Linked DNA regions of Homo sapiens: region 2 is linked to region 1. The links are contacts of gene promoters, found by promoter capture Hi-C in blood cells and fetal thymus (Javierre and others, 2016). All regions are on one chromosome and are shown on one strand. Each heading gives the region's core, a stretch centred on a gene start or on the middle of the fragment in contact. The rest is flanking DNA. Distances are from core to core; before and after follow the strand shown. Region 1 holds the start of NADK2-AS1 (NADK2 antisense RNA 1). Region 2 overlaps SLC1A3-AS1 (SLC1A3 antisense RNA 1).

Region 1 (4,482 bases), core at 1,279-3,778:
CTTGTCAAACTTCTGAAATGACTAGAAACTAGAATTACTGGTAATGAAATGATTCTTGAAAAGAAGATCTAATACAACTTCACAAACATCTGTGGGAAAAGCTTTCCCCAACTATAAAATCTAGTCCAAGTCAGGAAATAAAAAGTAGTCCAACTTAGCTCTCTCAAATATAATTGGCCAACCTCATGCTCCTTCCTCCACCTTCCTCTTTTCCTGATGGTCTGACCACTGAACACATTAAGTAAAAGAAACTTTTAAAAATCCCATCCCCACTGCTTAAGAAATACTTTTATGTGAGACAGATACCAGGAATCTCAGCATGGTTGGATTAAATCCAGCTCTCAATCATTACTAGATGGGAGATAAAGATAAAAAATATAAAATCTGAAAATTCAAACAATTTTAGCCAAAGTTTTAATTACCTTTCCACTAAACTGATAAGGACATGTAACGAGGTTAAGAAAGTAGAGACATGCCTGCTATCTCACTGAAGGAGAAAAAAAATTTCTATATGCAGTTATATTATAGGCCAACCAATATTTGTCAGGGTTTCTCTCCACAATTCCAACTGGACTAGGAGAAGGTAAATTAGACCTATTTGTGACTCAGCTAATACATTACTTTTAATGGCTACTGTTATATCTATGGAGTAATCCAAACATTATCTGATTTGTTCTGGTTTTTTGTGTGTTTGTTTGTTTTGAGACACAGTCTCACTCTGTTACCCAGGCTGGAGTGCAGTGGCATGATCTCGGCTCACTGGAACCTCTACCTCCTGGGCTCAAGTGATCCTCTCAACTCAGCCCCGCAAGTAGCTGGGACTACAGGTGCTTGCCACCATGCCCAGCTAACTTCTGTATTTTTTGTAGAAACAAGGTTTCACCATGTTGCCCAGGCTGGTCTCAAACTCCTGAGCTCAAGTGATCCACCCGCATCGGCCTCCCAAAGTACTGGGATTACAGGCGTGAGATACCGTGCCCTGCCTGATTTGTTCTGTTTTTTAACAGCATTATTAATGGCACATACTTATTAAGATACTTACATAAGAACAACCGTAAGAAATTCCTACCTGAACTCACCACGATAGAACTTCTGTAAGGCTTCTGGAAAGGAATGTGTATATCGAACGGGCAGGCATAAATGACCCTCAGACCTATATTTTAACAGGAATTTTTTGGTGATATAAAGAGGAAAAGAAAAAAGGTGAAGCAAAAAAATTTAATCAAAAGGTATCACTAAGCTATAAAAATAAGAAATGAAATTCTAAAAATGTCTACCCTATATTCCATTTTTTGCCACAAAATTGTGTTCTTTAAATAAAAACAAAAAAGACCAGATAGAATTAGTAGTCTACATCCAGCTTTAATGCCATAATACATAATAATATGTGAGTTTCTACGTTACAATGAAACTAAAAATAGCAGCAAATCTGCTACTAATTACCCTGTAAAGTTATTTAATGGTACAGTGTTGTTCAAATCATTATTTAACTACTAACCTTCCAATTTTTATTCTAACCTTTAAATTATTTAACTATTAACTTTGGGCAAGTCACTTTAGCATCAGCTTCCTCATCTCCAAAATCAGGATAAACCAGCAATCTCAAAAGGAATCAAAATATTTATGTGAAATGTTTTGAACCATAATCCTTTCTGAAATGTCATTTAAGATATCCTAAGTCACTAAAAAAGAACTGAGAAAGCTTAATCCAATGTAATCCTTCATTTATTCAAAAATACATAAATAATGAAACTCCTTTAAGGAGTTCATAGCTTGATGTGGAAGACAAATTAAAACAAACCATTGCAAATTATAAGGTGGTAAGATTGCCTATTGGTTGGTGTAGATGAGAGTATGTGGCACCTAAAGATGTCCAGAAGGCTCAGTCATCATCATTTAATGATACTCCAATCTTGAAGAAAAGGCTGAGGGTAGGCTTAGCAAAACAAACTCCTGATAATAAATGTAAATCAACTTGTAAGCGTGAAGGGCACAGAAAAGTGTTTTTACAAAGTTGTGAATAGTCAACTTCTTTATCTAAGCAGGTCAACACTGAGGTTAAGAAAGCGTAAGGCCTAGGTTTTTAAATTTTTATATTCATTGTAATAGTTCACACAATGTTAAGTATATAAAAGGTATCAACAGTCATTTGATAGAATAATACCTGCTGAGGTCAACTGCAAGTCTAAAACCCTTGCAGAGAGAAGACTTTCTCATGAGGTTACAGTCAGATATCAGCTAGGGCGGCAGGCATCTGAAGGCTTGACTTGGACTAGCACGACCACTTCCAGGGTTGCTCACTCACATGGCTGGCAAATTGGTGCTGGCCATTGGCAGGAGGCCTCAATCACCCTCTACGTGAGCCTCTCCACAGAGCTGCTTGTGAGTATCCTCACATCATGGTGGCTGTCCTACCCCACAATGAACAATCCTAAAGACCAATACAGATGCTGCAATACCATTTATGACCTGGCCTTGGAACCTACACATTCTCACATCATATTCTACTGGTCACACAGGCCATCCTTGATTGAATATTGGGGGGCAGGGAGGAGTACATTAAAGGGTACCTAAATACTAGGAAGCTACCTTGGAGGCTGACTACCACATGCCCTCTATCCCATTTTGAATATTAAGCTTTCAAATGTTGTAATTATTTACCAGGCTCGGTAGAGTGGCTATAGAATACAGAAGAGATGGATAGAAATTACACATTTGATTTAGATGAGTCCATGTGAGTGGGCCATCTTGAAAGTGGATCCTCCAGCCCAAGTCAAGCCTTCAGATGCCTACAGACCAAGCTGACATCTACTTATCCTCAGGAGAGATCTCAAGCCAAAACCACCCAGCCAAACTGCTCCTGAACTCCGACATGCACAACCCGTAAGAAATAATACACTGTTACTGTCATAAGCCTCTAAGTTTTGGGGTGATTAGTTATGCAGCATTTGACAACTAATAAATAGGAGAAAAAACTTAAGTTGAACATTAACTTCTGGGCTTTTTTTAAGGACTGAGACACCACTATATTTAAGATAAAGAAATCAGACAACTTGAAGCATACACAAAACCAGAAGGCAATTTAACATATCTGCCTGGAGGCAAGAAGAGAAACCAAAGAACTTCTAACACCTGTTCTTCTAGCTAGAAAATAGAGAAGAGATGACAATATTAACAATTGCTTGCCAGCTTCAAATTCCCACAAATTTATGAATATGAAGCCAGTTTCCAAAAGAAAATATAGTTCAATAAACTGTGTAACATATGATCACTAAAGTGATCTTTTACCTTAATGATATAAAAATAAGCCATTAAGAAGTTCTAAAACCCAAATGCATCAACACTGATGGCAATTAAAAATTAATTACTGAACCAATGATCTCTATTATTTACATTCAGGGAATATTTACTCAGCTAGACTGGGGTTCTATCCCTATTCCCTAAAATCACTGAATCAATCATTCATTTTTCAATTCATTTATTGCCTACCAGCTATGTATAAAACTATGCTAGTGACAGAGAAATTAAAATACAAGGTCCTATACTCAAGGAATTTATAGTCTAATGAAAGAGAAAAAGAAACAGAAAATAAATATATAGGGATAAGTGCTTTCTGTAGAGGGAATTACAACCCAGGAGAAACACCAGTCTTGAACAAACAAGAAACACAGAAGTGAGTAAGTGGTATAAGGGAACTTTTGACAAAAGCACATACAAAGGCATGGGTGGGTGGGTTAGGGGGACATAGGCCTTCTGGAGAACTCTTTCACCTACTCTCAAATCACGCCTTGGGTCATCATATCAACAAAGCTCCCCACCAGAGTAAAAGCATCCCTGTGTGAGCCTCTAACCAGCATGTTGGTGGACACTCATATAGTTACATTTTGCAGTTAAGAACAGCCTTTTAGAAAGGATCCCAGGCTGATCCTAGAAAAGTTTCCAAAAATATATTTTTTAAGCTAAAGAATGTGTCATGCCTGTGGACATATGAGGACAGGTGAAACTAGAAAAGCAAACAGGCAAGAGACAGTGAAAGATAATATGTATTATGCTAAGGAATTTACAATGTATCCTGAAGGTCATGGGAAACTCTAAAAGATTTAATAAGAAGTGGATATAATCAATTAGATCTGCACTTTAGAAAGAAGACTAAGGCAATGTGTAAAGGATGAGTTAGAAGGAGAGAGACTGTAAGCTAGTTCAGTAATTTAAACAAACTATAAAGGGCTGAGCTATTTTTAGTGGCAGCGAGGATGGCAAGAGATGGACTCAAAAGTAAGTTCCCTAGAACTTAGGACCAATTTGATGATAGAGTGAGGGAGAGGTAGTTACAGCTTCAGCACAGATGATTTCATTCATCAAGAATGATGGGAGAGAGGAAAGGAGAGTTTATTGGTACATGTTACAATTTTAATACCACTGGATATATCCAAAGTAGAGGCCAGTGTGGCTAGAATAGAATGAAGGGAAAAATAATAGGCA
Region 2 (2,719 bases), core at 220-2,719, 480 kb after region 1:
CAGGTAAATATGCAGCTGGTAATTTAAATTCAGTGCCTCAAGATATTGTTTTTAACCTTCCTTTCTGTCTTCCCTTTCACAAGGGTAACTTAACTCCCAGTGCTCCCAGCCCCTTCCATCCTGTTGCATCAGTTTCAACTATGGTTGTTCTAGCCTCATTGTCAGAGCACGTGATGAAAGATCATTAGCATCTGATGCAAGGCTGTGCTCCCTCAGTGCGCTCCAGTTGGCTCCGTGCCCCCATGTGGAAACTGGGCTGCCTGGCGGTGGACCATGTGCCAGTCCCAGGAGCCCCAAAGATTCTGACTTTGAAAGCAATCTTCAGGGCTTTACCTGGGAAGCAGAAGAACTCTGGAGAACTCTGTACACAGGTGAGTTCACTAGGACGGTGAGCAAAGTAGAGGTAATGTACACTCCAGGAGGAAGAAAAAACCAAAACAGAAACCCCAGCCTCCACTGACCAACCTTCCTCTCCTGATTTCCCACTGAAAAGGCTGGATTTTCCACAGACAACCTGGAAGTTCTTGCCTGGGGAATGTACAGTGTAGAGACTTGGCACTTTCATTTTCTCATGTAATTATGCATTGAAAATGAAGCTTAATATTGAGCCAATAAGGAGAAGTTGAGTTCAAAACTTAACACCTTCCTACATCTTATGCCCTTACTCATCCTGGCTCCATCTCACCAGTATCTATTTTACTTTGGGGAAGGAAGCAGTTAAATTTCAATATGAAACAACAGCTCCCAGAACTTTCATTACCGCCAGTAATTACTGCTCAGGGAAAGGATAAATAATAATAATAATAATAATAATAAAGCATAACTCCAATTCCCCATAATCTGCCTGCTAGTTCAAGTGGCCAACATAATATTTACAATATATTTTAAGTCAAGCATGAAAAAGTTGAGAATACCAACAAACTTTATTATTTGGAGTGCTGACAAAGAACATAATAAAGCAATTAAACACCATGTCAGACCGGGTTCATTACACAAATATGCCCATCCTCCTGGAGGGCTGTTGGGCAGAATAAGTGAGGTAATGTATCTAGGGTGCTCTGCACAGTGCCTGGCAAGTGGTAAAGCCTTGATAAATAGCAGCTAGTGCTATTCTTAGCACAACAGTGGGGCCCACATGGAAACTCCACCCAGTAGTAGGCAAAGGGAGGAAAAGATATGGGAAAGAATGCACAGTAAGAGGTGAGGAGGGAGAGAAAGAGAAGAAGAAAAAGAGAGACCAACAATCAGACAGACAAGTGTCACAAGTTTCCAGCAGGATCACTTCTACCCTGGATGCATAATCCAAAATGACCATTTTATCTGATTGTTAATGCCTCCAATTGACCTAAAATTGTTATACTTTTTATTTATGTCAGAAAACATTTTCCAACTGCGGAAATGCAGTTAGCTCTATTGATTTTCTTTTCTTTACAAAAAGGAAAGACCCAGGTGATGATTTTTTTCCACTCTTCATCCCTGAGATTCATTTCTGGTTTTATGGTTTCATGGACCATTTACCTATCTGGAATATCTGGAAAGTGTGCCTGATTGGGTATAGCTTTCCTTTCCTGGTCAGCAACCAAGACCTCCCTCGATTGCCATAGTGAAATGAGTGAAATCTGCACCACCACGCCTGCCCTTTCAATGTGCTGTATTAAAATAAATTGATGACGCTCATCACCAATCTTTTGCTGGAGAGAGGGACATCAACATTAATATTCTTGTTTGCTTATTTGTGTCCTGTATTGGTCCATGGAGAATTTGAAGAGCTTTTCAACAAGAACACATGCAATACTATTGTAAGTTAGAATAAAGAATCAGCAGCAACAGGGGCAAAATAAATAAAAATAGAAAGTTGAGACTGAGAAAAGCCCACTGTGACTGAAATTTAGCAGGAGAGAGAAGTATCCAGGCAGCCTGAGCAGCAACCTGGGAGCCAGGGCCCAGGAGGCCAACCTGGGGATTGGAGAGAAGGAAACAGCAGGAGCCTCTGGAATCATCAGGAAGACTGCAGGGTGGAGCACACAGAGGGGAGGTCGAAAAGCCTGAGAGTCTAGACAGAGACAGCCAGTGAGCCAGAGATACCCAACTTTGGTCTTGTTATTGCAACTTAACTCCGCCCCTCATCCCCCTTTAGTGTGGCCCCAGGGAAATACAGATTACTAGTTTCCAGTCAAGAACTCAGTGCGTAGGGAGCCTGAGATGCTGGTTAAGGCAGATCCAGATGCTCTTGAGATCAGATCAGCGAGTGGCAAAGTGAGCATCTGCAGGGTCTCCCATGAGCAAAACCAGGAATTTCCTGGAGAAACAGAGTCTGCTCTAGCATGGCAACAAATGAAGGCTAAGCTTGCAGCATTCTATACCATGGGTCATGGCTCTGATATTCTTGGCATGGAAAATACTAAGTCGCGTCTTACCAGTCATACAGCAAGGTCACAAAAAAAAGTCTCAGAAATACCCTCATGAGCAACAGCTTCCCAGTGAATCTGCCTGGATGAATTAGCTGCACAGTGTGTCCCCAGAGGAACTAGATGAAGAAGCCTGCAGCAGGCGGGTACTAGATATGAGGCAATCCATTTTGGAGGACATCTGCCAAAAGAATAATTTTCAATTTAAGATGGTTAATATTGAATCACTCTTTAAAAAAGAAAAACAATTAGCTAGCAGGACCACCTATGTGCTGTAGGCCCCTCCTGGTCCCTGCCATGAGGCTACAGAT

Evidence for each region. The method cuts DNA at HindIII sites, captures the fragments that hold promoters and counts their contacts. A CHiCAGO score of 5 or more calls a contact.
Region 2: a contact is called between a fragment that was not itself captured here and the fragment with the promoter of NADK2-AS1 in region 1, in 1 of 17 cell types (megakaryocytes). The highest score is 5.5, in megakaryocytes.

The regions. Positions count from the first base shown.
Region 1 is chr5:36,218,527-36,223,008 of GRCh38, forward strand. NADK2-AS1 (NADK2 antisense RNA 1) reads left to right here and starts at 2,529. Exons shown (of 2, transcript NR_170324.1): 1 at 2,529-2,883; 2 at 3,012-3,375. NADK2 (NAD kinase 2, mitochondrial) reads right to left here. Exons shown (of 12, transcript NM_001085411.3): 5 at 1,070-1,153. The HindIII fragment of the contact is 935 bases long and covers 1,701-2,635 here.
Region 2 is chr5:36,703,263-36,705,981 of GRCh38, forward strand. All of the region lies in intron 1 of SLC1A3-AS1 (SLC1A3 antisense RNA 1), which reads right to left. Among named protein-coding and RNA genes, the nearest start is that of SLC1A3-AS1, 21 kb to the right of the region's middle. The HindIII fragment of the contact is 1,750 bases long and covers 595-2,344 here.